2 separate regions of the Homo sapiens genome follow, and region 2 is linked to region 1. The links are contacts of gene promoters, found by promoter capture Hi-C in blood cells and fetal thymus (Javierre and others, 2016). All regions are on one chromosome and are shown on one strand. Each heading gives the region's core, a stretch centred on a gene start or on the middle of the fragment in contact. The rest is flanking DNA. Distances are from core to core; before and after follow the strand shown.

What was found. The method cuts DNA at HindIII sites, captures the fragments that hold promoters and counts their contacts. A CHiCAGO score of 5 or more calls a contact.
Region 2: a fragment that was not itself captured here is called in contact with the fragment with the promoter of SLC25A36 in region 1 in 1 of 17 cell types (naive CD4 T cells); the score reaches 5.1 in naive CD4 T cells.

What each region holds. Positions count from the first base shown.
Region 1 is chr3:140,940,574-140,943,118 of GRCh38, forward strand. SLC25A36 (solute carrier family 25 member 36) reads left to right here and starts at 1,263. Exons shown (of 7, transcript NM_001104647.3): 1 at 1,263-1,522. The coding sequence starts at 1,482. RefSeq lists enhancers at 1,237-1,606, 1,700-2,545, 2,187-2,416. The HindIII fragment of the contact is 2,098 bases long and covers 187-2,284 here.
Region 2 is chr3:142,994,818-142,997,362 of GRCh38, forward strand. The region is part of intron 3 of PAQR9-AS1 (PAQR9 antisense RNA 1); the gene reads left to right. Among named protein-coding and RNA genes, the nearest start is that of U2SURP, 5.5 kb to the right of the region's middle. The HindIII fragment of the contact is 9,415 bases long and covers 1-2,545 here.

The DNA of each region.
Region 1 (2,545 bases), core at 13-2,512:
GTATGATTCTGGATCAAAGCAATAGTTACCAAGAGGTGCAAGTGGTCCAGTCAAATCAAAAGTAGACTGGTCAAGAGCCGAAGTCATAGCAGCAGCTTTTTGGGATGCTCAAGGTATTTTGCCTGTTGACTTTCTGGAGGGTGGAAGAGCAATAACATCCGCTTACTATAGGAGAAAGTGAAGCAAAGCTTTAGCATAAAAACACCTACGAAATCTTCACCAGAGAGTCCTTCTCCATCAGGACAATGTTCCTGCTCATTCCTCTCTTTAAATAAGGGCATTTTTCCAGGGATTTCGATGGGAAACTATCAGGTATCCATCTTACATTCCTGACCTGGCTCCTTCTGACATATTTTTGTTTTCTAATCGTGAAAAATCTGTAAATGGCACCCATTTTTCTTCAGTTAATAACGTAAAAAAGCCTGCATTTTCATGATTAAATTCCCAGAACCCTCAATTCTTTACAGATGGACTAAAGAGCCGGTATCATCACTTACCAAACTGTCTTTAACTTGATGGAGCTTACGTTGAAAAACAAAGTTTATATTTTTAAATTTTATCTTTTAATTCCATTTCCCATGAACTTTTATTCTTTTAAAAACAAACCCAAGTATTTTAATTCTACTTGCCTTTTTTACTTATTACACACTTCGGGAGATTTTTTGCCATATGGAATCACCTCATCCCTTGTCACGATTGCATAATATTCCATAGTAGGAATGTTTCATGATTTATTTCTTCATTCCCCCACTGATTTCAATTTTCTGCAACTGCAAGCATTGTTCATAATTCTGTACTGTTTGTGAGCCTATATAGGAGTATCCGTGCACAAACCTTTTTATGCATTGTGCGAGGGTTACTCTGAGATAGACACCAAGGGAACTGCTGGGTCATAAATCCAATTTTTTCAAAGTAAATCCGCTTGCGAACCCGGAACCAAGTCGATTTTTCCCGCCCCGCCAGTTCCCTGTTCAGGAGAGTGCAGCCGTGATTGGCGCGTTCACTCAGGCCAGGGGCGCCCCAGGTCTCAGGTGCTAGGAGCGCGGTGACCTACCACCCTCCGGGCACGCGTTCTGGCCACGCCTCGCGGCCCCTTTCATTGAAAGAGCCCGTAGGGATCACGTGAAAGAACACTGCAGAGTGCGTGACGTCACGACGCTCACACCAATGGGAGCCTCTGTTTATGTCGGGAGCCATCAAATAGTCATCTTCCCCCTACCATCCCCCGCCCACTCTCCGTCGCGCTGCGCTGCGTCGCTTTCAGCCTCTGGTGAAGGGCGGCGCGCTTAGGCAGGCGGTGGCGCGGCTGGAGTGCCGCGGGGAGGGCTGTGCCGGTTGCTTTCTGCAGCCGCATCTCGGCCAGCTCTCCTCGCCGTCCCCGGGGCGCTGTGCGTCTCCAGTCCGGGACCGAAGCCGCCTGCCGTAGCGGGCGGCCAGATCCGCGTCCCGCCTCAGCGGCCGGAGGACATGCGGGAGAGAGAATGAGCCAGAGGGACACGCTGGTGCATCTGTTTGCCGGAGGGTAAGGTCCTGGCGGGGCGTGCGCACTGGGGCTGAGGGTGCTGGGGCCGAAGACGCAGGCGAGGGGGGCGAGGGGGGCCGAGGGGGGTGGGGGGGTGGGGGGGCGGGAGTGAGGCCTGGGCGGGGAGCTGCCACGGGCCTGCGGGTGAGGGGAGCGACCCAGCCCGTGGGTGGTGAGGGGGGCTCCGGTTCGGGGAAGCAAGGGGGTGAGGCCCGGGCCCGAGGGCGAGAGAGTGAGGCCCGGGCAAAGAGGGTTGAGGCATGAAACCCGGGCCGGGAGTGAGGTTTTGGGCCCGCGGGGCCGGGGTGAGGCGGAGGCCGAATCCATGCGTCTGAGGAGACGCGGGCAAGAGCTGGGGTCGGCGCTTGATTACCCGGACGCCGCTGGACCTGGCCGCACGCCGCAATCTAGCAGGCGTCGGGGATCCAGGGCCGCTTTGAGGAGCCTGGCTTCGGATTTCGCGTAGGTTGCATGGCCCAAGGGGACGGGGCGGAAAGTGCGGAGGCTGAGGACAAAATGGGCGCCGGAGACTCCTTTAGCCCTCGCTCCTTGCAGCGCTCGCTTGGGCCTCTGCACGTCACTCACGCCCCACCTCGGACCTCGGGCCGCTCATTTCCGGGCTCGGCTTTGCAAGGTGGGTGGTAAGGGGGCTACGGGATCGAGCGGGGAAGGCTTTGGTATTCTCCCGTGGTTGCTGTAGGGTGTTTCTAGCCCTTGGAAAATTTCTTGCCCGAGGTTTTCCAGGTGGTGAATGGGGTGCAAAGCTTTCCAGTACCTTTGGGGTCAGATTCCTTTCGAGAAAACCACCCCTCTTGAACACCGCTTGCTTTTCTGCTGCTTAGGAGAAAGTAGGAGTGGAGAGAGGTCAGATTTTTTGAAGATAGTGTTAATAGTTACTATGTGTGTGCAAGATTAGGACTAAGCCTAAAGTCTTAGTTCCCTGATTGCCAAAATGAGTGTTAGAGCTTCCAGTTTAGCCTCCTGTTTAGATTTGCTCCTTCTAAATCATTTGGAGAATCATAG
Region 2 (2,545 bases), core at 18-2,517, 2.1 Mb after region 1:
GGACCATTCCCAAGTCAGTTCTCTGGTGGGATCAAAGCTGTGTCCTTTCAGCCAGGGACAAAATACAGAAACAGAAAGTTCATTATAGATCCTATGGTAAACTGAATAATGGCCCTCCAAAGATGTCCACACCCTAATCCCCAGAACCTGCAAATATATTGCCTAACATGGCAAAGGGACTTTGCAGCTGTGATTAAGGCTCTTGAGATGGGAGATTATCCTGGATTGTCATAGTAGAGCCAATGTAATCACAAGGGTCCTTATAAGAGGGAGGGAGCAGAGTTGGAGAAGAGATAAGGGTGGAGGCAAGTGTCAGAAGATGCTAATGGAGGAGAGGGCCACAGACCAAGGAATGCAGGTGAATTCTAGAAGCTGGGAAGGGGAAAGAAAAGGATTATTCTTTAGAGACTCCAAAATAAGCACGGGCCTGGTGGTACATTTTATATTTCTGACCTCCAGAGCTATAAAATACATCTGAGTTGCTGTAAGCCACTAACTTTGTGGTAATTTGCTACAGCAGCAATAGGAAACTATACAGATTTCTACCTGTCCTCCTCCTAATCTGCGTTCCACACTGCTCATTTTCACTGGTGTGCAGAGTGGGACATTTCTACTTTGTTCCCCTATTTTCCCAAGTCAGGGAGATGTCCTGGTTTGTCTTGACACAAGCCTCTAACAATGTTTCTCTAACAGGGCTGTGTGACCATTGGCATTCTTTGGTGTATCCTCACAGTCCCTTAGTTTTCTTATGAGAGTTTTAAATTCTATTCAGTTCCACAGTTAGCTAAAAAAAAGTTAATGTACAATTCAAGGTACAACCCAAAAAGTTATCCTTATCCTCATAAGAATACTAAAATCATCTCATTAGAGTCAGGAATGAGACAAGCATGTTTGGCCGGGCGCGGTGGCTCACGCCTGTAATCCCAGCACTTTGGGAGGCCAAGGCGGGCGGATCATGAGGTCAGAAGATCGAGACCATCCTGGCTAACACGGTGAAACCCCATCTCTACTAAAAATACAAAAAATTAGCCGGGCGTGGTGGCGGGCACCTGTAGTCCCAGCTACTCGGAAGGCTGAGGCAGGAGAATGGCGTGAACCCGGGAGGCGGAGCTGGCAGTGAGCAGAGATCGTGCCACTGCACTCTAGCCTGGGCAACAGAGAGAGACTCCATCTCGATAAAAAAAAAAAAAAAAAAAAGACAAGCATGTTCATTAGCACCACTCTTAACATTATTCTGGGGGTACTGGCTAATGTAATTATACAAGAAAAAAGTATAAAAATGGGAAAGGAGGAGGCAAACTGGTAATTATTTGCAAATATGATTGTATACCTGAAAGTTCAAGGGAATAAACTGAAAACCTATGTAAATAATAAAAGAATTCAGTAAACACATTACACAACATTAATATATCAATAAACAGCTTATTTAGGACATACATAAATACAAAAACTTACTATAATCACAGTAACAACAGAAAAGACAAAATACCTAACAATTAAAGTAACAGGAAATAATGCAAAGTTAATGTGAAGGAAATGGAACAAAACTTGAAAAAGAAGAAAGGTATGCCATGTTGTTTTGATAGAATCTTACCACTATAGCAATGTCAAAATAAAGCCTTATGTGTTTTAAGACCACTGTTACTAACAACTTTTGTTATTAACAGATGAAATTGATGAGGGAAAGTCTTCTTTCATTTTCTTTTCATAACTTCATTCTCCACCCAGCCTGTAATATTACCTGGTCTTGTCTCGTGAGTTTCAGTAAATATGGGGATATGTACGCTTCGCACTGGCCAAAGCCAGGTCACAAGTTAAGTGAGGCCTTATCTTTGGTGGTCCAAGTCAAGCCCACCTTTGGGTTGCCTGGCCATGGCAAGAGAGAGCTCCCCAGATTTGCCGTGTGCTGGTTCTCATGACCTGCCACAGGAACCTTGAGTCCTCCTTTATCACACTCACACACACACACACACACACACACACTCAGGAACGCTCATTTCCATTTCCACAGTACGCCATCTGGACTCTCCTAGATTTTATTAACCTTGTTGATAAAATAATTCCTACACAGTAAAGGTTTCCTTCTCACTAGGATCATAGTTAAAATGGCAATTTCTATTATTTTCAACATGGCACCAGTGTATTCTTGGGCTATATACTTTTTGACATCATTTTTAAAAAAATGCCACTGCTAATTATTATTATTATTATTATTATTATTATTTTTTGTAGAGACGGAGTCTCGCTTTGTTGCCCAGGCTGGAGTGCAGTGGTGTGATCTCAGCTCACTGCAACCTCTGCCTCCTGGGTTCAAGCATTTCTCCTGCCTCAGCCTCCTGAGTAGCTGGGACTACAGGTGCACGCTGCCATGCCCAGCTAATTTCTTTTGTATTTTAGTAGAGAAGGGGTTTCACCATGTTGCCCACGCTGGTCTCAAATTCCTGAGCTCAGGCAATCCACCTGCCTTGGCCTCCCAAAGTGCTAGGATTACAGGCGTGAGCCACTGCGCCTGGCTGCCACTGCTAATTATTATTGTCAAAGGAAT